Regions from separate parts of the Homo sapiens genome. Here regions 2 and 3 are each linked to region 1. Evidence: promoter capture Hi-C in human tissues and cell types (Jung and others, 2019). All regions are on one chromosome and are shown on one strand. The core of a region is centred on a gene start or on the middle of the fragment in contact, and the rest is flanking DNA. Distances in the headings are between cores, read along the strand shown. Region 1 holds the start of CHRM5 (cholinergic receptor muscarinic 5). Region 2 overlaps RYR3 (ryanodine receptor 3). Region 3 overlaps RYR3 (ryanodine receptor 3).

Region 1 (4,082 bases), core at 420-2,919:
TCTGATAACTTTATGTATATTACCACAAGATCTCCGTAGTTAGGTGTGATATGCTCTTGTTTCCCTGTCTCCTCTCTTCTAAGATAATATAAATATTATTTGTTGTAGGACTTCTTTATGATAAGGTGCTTTGGACCTAAGTTTTCCAATGAAACTCATGAAAACCAATGTGGTTGGGATTTCTGCTAAATGATAACGTTTTGTTGTTTTTACATAAGATTGTCACTCTAGAAGTCTCATTATGCAGTGATTTCTAGGGAATTTCTTAAAGGCACTGTATCTTTTAAAATCCTTTGATGGCTTCACTAGTGCTTTGCATTTTACAGTTTGGACCACTGACCTGAGTCAAAGCTTTTGAGGTTTTAAGGTACCAGACATCTTTCATCTTTTTATCCTCTTGTTGAATCAGAAAAATGTCTTCATTTAGTCTGTTATAAAAATGTCTAGTATCTTTAGGATAAATTAGCCCTATCCTACAAGAGTGTTATACCTCGATTTAGTAGAGATTATTTTTCTTTAGTATGAATGAAATGACATCACAGCTTTTTTTTCTTAGTAACAATAGAAATCAGTCATTGAGCTTTTGTTCCTTTATATGAATAAAAATATTTAAAATGCTTATTAATTTTTCTTTGTTTTATCAAGTACTCTGGGAAACTAAGTTCATTTGAATATTGTTGGTAAACATTATCTGTGAATGGCTCTTATGCACCATTCAGGGCTCTCTTCATGCATTTTTTTCAAGCTATTAAATAAAACAAAATTGGGATAAAAATAAAGACAAAGATGAGACAAATTCAATGAAAAATGAATGGGAGTTTTGGATGCTTTATTATCTAGTTCTGAGTGACTTGTTTATGCAGCATAAGTAAAAACAAGCGTTTACCTCAGCTTAAATCTGCAAAAGCTTAAGGAAGGGTTGCAAGAAATTCAAATCCACTATCTCATTCACAGCACGAGCAGATTTAATTTCAGTAGACAAGATATAAATTAAGGTTATAAAATTAAATCTTACCTGGCAGTGGTTTGTTTGAAGCTCAGTAATTTGAACTCTGGCTGGAAATAGTAAGCTTCGAGACCCAAAATGCCTTCTCTACTTTCCTTTCATGTTTTATTTTGCCAGTGTTTTATTTCTTGCAGTGTCTTTATATCTGTATTCCTGATAATCCTGTAGCATTAGTTAGGATAGTATGCGGTAGATGAAGACTCCATTTGGATAGGATTATAGAACCAGAAGGGTGAGTTTTGCCTTTATCTGGTAACAGCAGTTGATCTGATCACAAACAATCTGAGTGTTGAGAACTTATTAAAGATTCATTGAATGCTTCAGCAATGAGAAATCCTGGTTGTTCCTATATGCATTTGACCCCCTGGAAAAGTTCTGCTTGTTCGTATTTCAGAATTACACACGCTTCCAAATCAAGCTGCTTTAAAAAACATTATCTGGACTAGAAGCATGGATGTTCTTGCACTCTTGCTTTCCTTTCTCCATACGAACTTTTCAGTCCATCAGCTTCCTTTCTGTAGAAGATGAAGGCATTTCTTCTGTCCTCCTCATGCTTTTGTAACCCATGCTTCTGGTACCCTGTTTTTTGAATAGTGAGGTAAAAATCCAGAAGGAAGTACGGCTTTATCATGTCTCTGGACGGTGAGCGTACTTGGCATGAATGAAGAGCTGATAGGAGCTATTCAAACCAGACAGCAAACTGATGGGATGACGCTGCCATACATAAAAAACTCATTAATTACTTCCCCTGCTGGACAGCAGTATATCCTGAAAGGAAGAAAGAAAGGAGCAGATGATGATATTCGTTTTGATAGGTGTTCTCTGTTTGAACAGCTTGTCATTGAGAAGAGAATCCAGGAAAAGCTGCAGCTTCAGAGTGTGATCAGGTAGAATGGGCAAGAGTTATTTGACAGACAGTTAAGTGACGTATTTTGGGAGGAAAAAGAGGGCTTAGCATGGAGGTAGCTGGAATAAGGTTCCAAAATGCTTTTGAAAATGTTCATTTTTTCCTGTTAGTCTTTTTGGCTAGAAGCTTTTTTTTTTTTTTTTTTTTTTTTTTAAGCTTTGCTAGGCATTATTCACAGACATGTTGCTGAGTTATTTTCTCATATGGTTTTCCCTAAAGATGGAAAATAATTTTTAAAAGTCTTTGAGATAGAAAGAGTATACTGTGAGTTTTAAATATTTGTAGCAGAGAAAAGGCTGCCTTTTTTTTTTTTCCTAAATGTATGCCTGTTTTTATACATCTTTTGGGCATATGCGTTTTGTTGCTTTGGAGTAAAGCATTATAAGTCCTCATTTGATACAAACTTTTAACAGGGTCTTCATTAAAGCTTTTCCTTAAGTTAGATGAAATCCATATTAGCTGTATAAAAGAATAGATTTTTAAATGTCAATTTCATAATTTTTGCACTTCAGTTTTTAAATTTAAAATTCAAATTTTTAAAACTGCACTTCAGTTTAAAATTTAAATTTTAAATTTAAACGTTTTTTCCCTGCCTGAGTTCTTTATGAGTGTATCTAGACAATATAATGTTTTTAAATTTTAAAAAATTATTATGGAACATTTCAAACTTACACAAAACTCTGAAAAATAATACAAAAATAATACATGAACCTCCAGAAACTCATTACCAAGATTCAACAATTGTCAGATTCAATTCTTTGCTAAAATATTTTAAAGCAAATCTCATTTCACCTATTTGTACTTTAGTATGTATATTTTTAAAGTATGGACACTTTTTCACATGACCCTGTGCCATTATCACACCTAACACATTGGCTATAATCCTCTGGAGTCATATAATATCCAGTTCATTTTAAATTCCTTGTGTCTCAGAAACTATGTCTTTATGTAGGTTTTTTCTGAGTGAGAATCCAGACAAAGTATACACTTTAATTGTTAGCCAATAGAATTTTAAACACTGACAGATGAACATGTATGAGAAAGAAGTGAATTTTAGTTTTATAGTGGTCTTTGACACACATTTGTAATAGGAATATTTATGCAAGAGAACATATCTTTAGAATATTTTCTTGAACTTTTCCCACTTAACATTGCATGATACTGAAAAGGATTGTAATTTCATATGGTAATGATTGGTCATTATATACTGGTCACTTCTATAATAAATACCCCAAGTTTTAAGCCACTGATTATTAAGCCATTTCAATGATTGAATGTGACTTAGAGTTCAGTGGAGATCCAAAATGAGAGAAGTAAAAATCTATCAAATGGGGCCATTGTGTTTATGAGGATCGATGACTATAATATTATATATGTTTTTCATTAATGTCAAGGTTTCTTCCCAATGGATTTTAATTTTTCTATGAAGTTTGAACTCCTAGCTCCTTTCTGGTAAAGCATAACATTTGGCTGTCCACTTAACTTTTCCAAGAATACAATAGCATGAGGTCCTGAAAATAACTTGTGTGCCACACCCTCACCTGTCGAAATTCATTCTCATTCAGGTTCTCTGTCTCTTCTCACTCTTATCTCATCTTTCAAATTGGCTGGATGAAAGAGAATGGGGGTGGTGAATATGGGGAGCCATTAAAGGGGTGTAGATGGAAATTATAATTTTCTGTTTCCATCTAAGCTCAAAGCCACTGCTGAGGACCGTGCTCCCATTTTTTATGGAGGGCAATAGAATACTTCTCTCCCAAGGTGCTCACTCTTGAGTATCTCTTGTCATACGTCATGTTATGGCATGAACATTTGGGAGCTTTGTGTTACACTTTATGTTCTCAAATTATACCTTGTCCTTTAAATCTTGCTGAATAAGGACTATATGTGCCAATCACTTTTTGAAAGCTTAGTAAATAGTTACTGATTATCACCATTTAATACAGATAAGCTGAATGGGAAAAGGTGAGCAAAAATGCTTCCATTCTCTTTCCAAGTTGTCTCTGAAATTTTTCTCAGTCATTTATAATACAATGTCAACATAGGAGAACACTTTGCAAATATGCAGGTTCTGCTGGAGAACTTTGTAGGGTGGGTGAAAAAGTGGTTATAGAGGGAACTGGAATAATAGATTATGAGTGTATTTTGGGTGCAAATATTTCATATCAT
Region 2 (4,082 bases), core at 500-2,999, 190 kb after region 1:
TGGATAAAGGACTGTGTCATCTCTAATTACAACCTTGTCTCTTTTCTTCCTTTGGAATATGCAATGGTGGGGAGTCATTTTTTATTTATGAATATGTCTTATCAAATCAATGCAAAGGTATATAGAATGAAAAGGAACACTTTTCAAATAGCTCTTGGGAAGGAGCACAATGCAAGAGACTAATTCCCCTCCCTCCCAAAGCTAACCTAGGCTTTCCTCTATCTTTGTCACATCCTCATTTCACCCTGCTACTGTGCCTTTATGAACTAAAGAGCAGAGGCAGTTTCTCTCTTTCCCCAGGTGAAGCTCTACACAGTGCTGGTATAGAGACAGAGATACACTATTTCTCAAGTCACAGTTGAAGCAGAATAAATGTATACATATCCAGAACTGTCATGACTGGGCCCCATGTCCCTTTGGAGTCAGGAAGCAACACCTGGGCTGGCATTTGCCTGGAGATGTCACAGCCACTTCTCAACTTCACCAAAGTCTGCTCTGCTGCTCAGCTTCCACTTTGGTGGAAAGCCAGGACTCATTTGGAATCAGGAGTGGGAAGTAAAAAAAAGGTTGGAAATCCCCCCCCCCTTTTTTTTTTTTTGCTAATTTCAAAGGGAAGAAAGGGTGAGATGAGGCTGAAGCGGTTGAGGAAAGGTTAACTTATAGATTTCATACGGGACTTTGGAAAGTTGAGGCATCTTGGCAATGTTTCTCTTGACTACCTCTGAGAACACTAGTCTCCACTGTATTCTAGCTCAGTGAAAGATTTTTATTAGTGGCCTTATCTGAATTGTCCTGGTGATCATTTCTGGGGGGCAATGTGCTCCTCTTACCTGAAGTAACAAGAAGCGAGTGGGAATAAAGCTGCCATGGCTTAGCACTTCGCATTTTTAGATGAAAAAAACAGCAGTGGCAAAGAAAAGTGTGGCATGAGCCCTTTCTTGCTCAGAATGCTTCTTCCTTAAATCTCATGGCAGTTTGAGAAAGGGGGCTTGAACTAAATGGAATTGCTACCACGTCCAGACATCTACTGGTAGTGTATAGCAATATTTTAAGAAAACATTGGTTCTGAATAGAAAAAGCTCTGGTTGAAAATAATTTACTGTAGCTTGTTTTCCCTTAATATTGATTAGCCTACAGTTGGGTAATTTTTGCTTCAGAATAGATGGAATCATCGCAGTTCTTTCTAGTTGGAGTCCAAGCTTGATTCAAGGCTCCTACTTGAAGCTCCTCTATTCTATTCCCTTATCCTTAGGCAGGATCACAATTAACCCAGATACAAGCACCCTCCAGAAGCAGATTTACAACCTGCCTTGGATTTTAGTTCCAGGATCATTTTACAAAAGAGGGTGGAAAACGTTTCCTGTAGAGGGCCAGATAGTAAATATTTTAGGCCTCGCGGGCCAAACTTTCCTGCCTCTACTCAACTCTGCCATTGTCGTGCTAAAGCAGCCACAGACCAAATGTACGTAAGTAGGTGTGGTTGTGTTCAAATAAAACTTTATTTACAAAAATAGGCAGGGGGCCAAATTTGCCCTGTGGTCATAGTTTGCCACCCTGTTGTGGAACCTAGCGTGTCAATATGTTTGCTAAGAAATATTCTTTCTTGTACACTTTCTCTTCCTTTTGGTGCTTTTCTATGTCTTATCTTCCATGAGGACAAAAATGTGTCATCAGCATCTTTAGAAGCACGCCTCTCCATGGACTTGAAGAGTATAACTGGGTTATTACTGTGGATGTGCACCTTCTGATACCACTCTGGAGAGGCACTGCAAAAAAGGAGTCACATCCCCAGGTGCAGAGGGGGAACTGAAACCCAGAGCAGACAAGAGACCCTGAGGTCTTAGGATGGAAAGGATTTCAAAATCAGCAACACTGACTCCTCACTTTAGAGAAGAGGAAACCAAAGCCTAATTATAACAAAGCCTTGCCCATGCTTATTTCTCCAGTAAGATGCAGACCTGCAACCTAGTCCCTAACCTCACCTCCTGGCTCCTCTCAGACCAAGAAAGCCACAGTGCTGCAGGGCTGCTGCTCCCTGCCTGTGTGGCTCCTCTCCTCTCAGCACATGAAATGGGTTGATGACCTTTGAGGGGAGATACTTACTAGACCTCTCCCTGGGGGTTTTGGTGTTGAAGACCGAGAGTGGATTGTAGCGATTAAGGGTGGGCTCCAGGAATGCCACTGGTATGGCAGCTGCCAGCGAGGCCAGACATTCTCCAAGGGCAGGGCGTTGCCTGGAAACAAAGAAGTCCATTGAGAAGTGTGGCCCCCCACATGCTGGCCCCATGCATTGGCAGATCAGGCCTTCCCCATAGATTAATCCATGGACATCCCTAGGCACTAGGCTCAGCAAGCTTGCATGCACTTCTTCCCCTCCTCTTTCTCTAGACACTAACCAATGCTCTCACTGCTTAGATCCTAGTTCTTTTTTTTTGAGACGGAGTCTTGCTCTGTCACCCAGGCTGGAGTGCAGTGGCGCGATATCAGCTCACTGCAAGCTCCGCCTCCCAGGTTCACGCCATTCTCCTGCCTCAGCCTCCCGAGTAGCTGGCACTACATGCGCCCACCACCATGCCCGGTTAATTTCTTTTTCTATTTTTTTTTTTAGTAGAGACGGGGTTTCGCCATGTTGGCCAGGATGGTCTCGATCTCCTGACCTTGTGATCTGCCCGCCTCGGCCTCCCAAAGTGCTGGGACTACAGGCGTGAGCCACCACGCCCGGCCAGATCCTAGTTCTTAACTGGTTAAGATGATATAACACACTGTGCGGCTTTGTCCCTCTCTCCCAGCATGTGTGAGAGCAAGTTCTGCTGGTATCCAAATTGAGATGGATCCTTCCCTGTTCTCAAAAATGCTTTGAAATCTGTGTAATTTCTCTGTGTCTCTTCTCTGCTATGGATGGAGCCTGTGTCCACTAGTGGGAACAGTAGGTAGCACACCAAAGCACCAATGAGACACAAAAATAAAAGACCTGCCCTTACAACAGAAACAATAGGTCCTAAAACCTACTGCTTGATTTACAGGAGAGACCTCAGATAACGGTTACTCCTTTCCCTCTTTTGTACAAATAGTTGACTGTCCACCATATCTTAAGGTCTGGTTCTTAAGTCTTCCTGTGAAGCAAGCAAACAAACAAAAACAAAAGGCTTGAGATCACACCATTGCACTCCAGCCTTGGTGACAGGGCAAGACTCCAACTCAAAAAGAAAAAAAAAGAAAAGAAAAGAAAAATTGTGATCTTAACTGGTCTTGAAGAAAAATGACTGCACAAGACTATGATAGAATCTGCAGACAGCAAATCTAGGGTATATAGAAGTGCTCTCCTTGAGATATAAATCTGCTGAACTAGAGAGAAGGAGGAGGGAAGGGTGGGTGAGTTGGCAGAAAGCTGTGCATTCCTTCGAAAAGCCACCCAGTCTTCATTCAAGTTACCAAACATATTTTAAAAAGTGATCTTTTAAATTACTATAAGGGGAAGTTAATATATGTGGTTTTATGTTTTATCTTCTTCTTAGGCTTGGCTGATAGCCTACTTGGCTATGAAGCATTTGAGCCGATAACTTCAAAATCAGCCCCCAGTCAGCAACACTGGATTGACAGGTCCTCAGTCAGGCAATCTCTTCTTAGCTGATGGCTCAGTCTTGTCCTTTGGATAAATGTTTGACTGCTAAAACCTCCCCACCCAGGACTGCTCCAGAGGCAGAGTGGAGGCCCTTGGACAAACCAGTCCTATTGTGCCCTGTGTATCAATGCTGCCCAGAGACGGAGACTGCTGAGACGCAGGTGATATTGGCGAAGCTTTCACAATGCAGCTTCACTTCTGGGCAGGCCCCAGGCCAGGCCTATTCCCCTGCCTTTCCTCCTCAGCACCTGCTCTTCCCCGATTATTTCTCTTCTTTACTAAGTTCCAGGTGGTGGCCAGGTGTGGGAAGAGGGGCATCATTTTAACTTCAGACCTGAGTTGCCAATTCCCTCGGTGACAACTGAGGATAGTGAGTGCCTCTACATATCAAATACAGGCATTCACAAGAGGCAATTTTTTTCAGCTAAGAGTTTTACCATCTTTACCACAGTGGCCAATG
Region 3 (4,082 bases), core at 751-3,250, 140 kb after region 1:
CCAAACTATAGCTGCTTGTGGAATGCAGGTACTATTGCTTCCTATTTAGAGAAAATAAAAATTGTCAGCATTAGGGCTGGATGGATAGTGCACTGTGTACAATCAAGTATTCTGTAGGGAATATAGAATACAGGCATATCAACAATGTTCTCTTTGTTTTCAACCATGCACTCTGTAGCACATACCTGGATGTATTCTGTAAGAGAATTGAAAATCTGCTTGGTGACTGCCAGAGCTTTGGAAAAATTGTGCTGTCCAGATTCATCAATGATGTCCTTCCCTGAATAATACCAGTAGAAATCACTGATTGATTCCTAAAAACAAATGAGTAGAGCTTAGTATTTCTCAGACTTCAGTCAGTGAAGCTAAACTCGGTGTTTGGGAAGGGTACATGATAATCCTGCATCTCTATGACCTCTTTGCTCTGACAGGAGCCAGGGACCCTGTGAAGAAGTGCAGAGATACCAGGTCTCTAGGATCTTTCATGCACAAATATCCCTGCAGAGGAAAGAATAGATAGGAGTGAGGACTGCCTTCAGCTGGAACTTGGAGACTATGAAATAGGATAATTTACTCAATGTGAAATATGTGAAGATAATGGTAATTATCCAAATAATCATAGTAACAGCAACAACATAATAGCTAATATTGTAAGTGCCAGACGTTGTTCTGAGTACATTACATATACAGGCATGTAGAGATTCAGAGATAATCCGAGTTTGATTACAGATAAACTACAGTAAAGTGAACATTACAATAAAGTGAGTCATACAAAATGTTGATTTCTCAGCGTACATCAAAGTTATGTTTACAATATGCTGTAGTCTATTAAGTGTGCAATAGCATTATGTCTTTAAAAAACAATGTACGTGCCATCATTAAAAAATACTTTATTGCTAAAAAGTGCTAACAATCACCTGAGCTCTCAGCAAGTTGTAAGTTCCACCATCTTTTTGCTGGTGAAAGGTCTTGCCTTGATGTTGATGGCTACTGACTAAACAGGGTGGTGGCTGCTGAAGGTTGAGGTGGCTGTGGCAATTTCTTGAAATAAGACAGTGTTAACTGCATCAACTGACTTCCTTTCATGAAAGACGCATGTACTGCTTGATAGCATTTTACCCACAGAACTTCTTTCAAAATTGGAGTCAGTCTTCTCAAACCTTGCCACTCCTTATCAACTAAGTTTACAATTTTAAATCCCTTTTTGGCATTTCAACAATGTTTAGAGCATCTTCACCAGGAAGACTCCATCTCAAGAAACCACTTTCTTTGCTCATCCATGAGAGGAAACTCTTCGTTTGTCAAAGTTTGATCATGAGATTGCAGCAATTCAGGTTCATGTTCTTCAGGCTCCACTACTAATTCTAGTTCTCTTGCTATTTCCAACACGTCTGCATTTATTTCCTCCACTGAAGTCTCAAACCCCTCCAAATCACCCACAAGGGTTGCAATCAACTTCCTCAAGTCCTGTTAATGTTGATATTTGACCTTCTCCCATGAATCAAAATTTTTTTTTTTTTTTTTTGAGACAGAGTCTCGCTCTGTTGCCCAGGCTGGAGTGCAGCGGCGCAATCTGGCTCACTGCAAGCTCCGCCTCCCGGGTTCACGCCATTCTCCTGCCTCAGCCTCCCGAGTAGCTGGGACTACAGGCACCCGCCACCATGCCCGGCTAATTTTTTTTTTTGTATTTTTAGTAGAGATGGGGTTTCACCGTGTTAGCCAGGATGGTCTCGATCTCCTGACCTTGTGATCCTCCTGCCTTGGCCTCCCAAAGTCCTAGGATTACAGATGCGAGCCACTGGGCCTGGCCCACAATGTTTTTTAATGACATCTACAATGTTGAATCCTTTCCAGAAGGTTTTCAACTTACCGTGCCCAGATCCATCAGAGGAATCACTATCTGTAGCAGCTGTAGCCTTACGAAATGCATTTCTTAAAAAATAAGACTTGCAAGTCAAAATTACTCCTTGATCCATGGGCTGCAGAATAAATCTTGTATTAGCAGGCATGAAAAAAAGATTCATTTCCTTGTATATCTCCATCAGAGCTCTTGGAACCAGGTGCATAGTCAACAACAGTAATATTTTGAAAGGAATCTTTTTTTTTTTCTGAGCAGTTGGTGTCAACAGTGGGCTTAAAATAGTAAATCATGCTGTAAACAGATGACAATCCAAGCTTTGTTTTTCCATACATAGAGCATGGGCAGAGTAGATTTACCATAATTCTTAAGGGCCCTAGGATTTTTGGAATGGTAAACGAGCAGTGGCTTCAACTTAAAGCTACCAGCTGGGCTGCCCCTAATAAGAAAGTCAGCCTGTCCTTTGAAGCTCTGAAGTGAGGTATTGGCTTGTCCTCTCTAACTATGAAAGTCCTAGATGGTATCTCTCTTCTAGGAGAAGGCTGTTTCATGTACGTGGGAAATCTGTTGTTTAGTGTGACCACCTTCATCAATTATCCTAGATAGATCTTCTGGGTAACTTGCTGCAGCTTCTATATCTGCACTTGCTGCTTTACCTTACACTTTTGTTTTGGAGATGACTTCTTTCCCTAAACCTCATGAACCAAACTCTGCTAGCTTCAAACTGTTCTTTGGCAGCTTCCTTACCTCTCTCAGCCTTCATAGAATTGAAGAGAGTTAGAGCCCTGCTCTAGATTAGATTGTGGCTTATGAGAATGTTGTGGCTGGTTTGACCTTTTATCCAGACCACTCGCACTGTCCCCATTTCAGTAATGAGGGTGTTTTGCTTTCTTATCATTCATATGCTCACTGAGGCAGCCCTTTTAATGTCCTTTAATAACTTTTTCTTTGCATAGCTTGGCTGTTTAGTGCAAGGGGCCTAGCCTTTGGCCTGTCTTAGCTTTCAACATGCCTTCCTTACTAAGCTTAATCATTTCCAGCTTTTGATTTAAAGTGGGAGATGTGTGACTCTTCCTTTCACTTGAACACTTGGAGGCCACTGTAGGGAAATTAACTGACCTAACTTCAATACTGTTATGTCTCAGGGAATAGGAAGGCCTGAGGAGAAGGAGGGAGATGGAGGAACAGTTGGTGGAATGGTGAGAACACATGCAACATTAAGTTTGCTGTCTTACAAGGGCATAGTTCATGGCACCCCAAAACAATTACAATAGTAACATCGAAGATCACTGATCACAGATCACCATAATAGATATAATAGTGAAAAGTTGGAAATATTGTGAGAATCATCAAAATGTGACAGAGACACCAAGTGAGTAAATGCTGTTGGTAAAACGGCACAGATAGACTTGCTTGATGCAGGGTTACCACAAACCTTCGATTTGTAAAACACACAGCATCTGTGAAGCACAATAATACCAACTGCAATAAAATGAGGTATGCCTGTATCCAACCTCTCAATCTTTACTACCACCCTATGGCATAGGTCCTACCCCTTTTACTGATGAAAAAACTGGAACACAGGCACATTAAACATATTGCTCTAGGTTACAAACCAGTAAGTGGCAGAACCAGGATGAGGAATCAGCAAAGAGGAAAAAAATCCCTTTTTGTTAATAGGTTTGTGTAGATTTTTTCAATATAATTTGGGCTTCCTTGAAACAAACCATCTGACTTCTCAACACGAACTTGTAAACTCATCCTATTCCTATCATCTCGTGTAAGTCTTTTTTTCTAGTGAAATCTGTTCTCATTCACAGGTTATTTTAGAGCTCTTGGTTGTGTTATAGCTCTTGGTTGTTTTATAGCAACACAGATTGGTTTTCACTGGCAAAACTAAAGTAAACCAGCATTTCATAACAGACGATTTGGTGTTTAACCACGTCTCCCACTTCTGTCTTCAAATATACTCTTTGGGCACTGGACTTCCCATGCATCTGTGGATACACGTTACAACGCCTTCCTTATAGGGGCTTGACTGTATCCTGGGCTGTCCCTGACCCTGTGTAACTGTGTTTATCTTCTGGAAGCAAAGGTGAGAGGTCCCATTGTCCAAGGCCCTCCCACTCACCTGCAGACGCAGAAGGTAGTCCACAGTGCTGATGATGACATTCACGGTGGTGGTGTTGCCCATCTGAGTCCGCAGGAAGTTCTGAAAGTCTGA

The links. Contacts are between HindIII fragments. The study calls those that stand out against the background at their distance.
Region 2: a contact is called between a fragment that was not itself captured here and the fragment with the promoter of CHRM5 in region 1, in 3 of the 25 tissues and cell types used here (dorsolateral prefrontal cortex, lymphoblastoid cells and mesenchymal stem cells).
Region 3: a contact is called between a fragment that was not itself captured here and the fragment with the promoter of CHRM5 in region 1, in 2 of the 25 tissues and cell types used here (heart left ventricle and mesenchymal stem cells).

The regions. Positions count from the first base shown.
Region 1 is chr15:33,966,084-33,970,165 of GRCh38, reverse strand. CHRM5 (cholinergic receptor muscarinic 5) reads right to left here and starts at 1,669. Exons shown (of 3, transcript NM_012125.4): 1 at 1,016-1,669. All of the region lies in intron 2 of AVEN (apoptosis and caspase activation inhibitor), which reads left to right. The HindIII fragment of the contact is 2,452 bases long and covers 630-3,081 here.
Region 2 is chr15:33,778,363-33,782,444 of GRCh38, reverse strand. RYR3 (ryanodine receptor 3) reads right to left here. Exons shown (of 104, transcript NM_001036.6): 65 at 2,104-2,234. Among named protein-coding and RNA genes, the nearest start is that of CHRM5, 190 kb to the left of the region's middle. The HindIII fragment of the contact is 5,462 bases long and covers 1-4,082 here.
Region 3 is chr15:33,827,195-33,831,276 of GRCh38, reverse strand. RYR3 (ryanodine receptor 3) reads right to left here. Exons shown (of 104, transcript NM_001036.6): 85 at 3,990-4,078; 86 at 186-314. Among named protein-coding and RNA genes, the nearest start is that of CHRM5, 140 kb to the left of the region's middle. The HindIII fragment of the contact is 5,248 bases long and covers 1-4,082 here.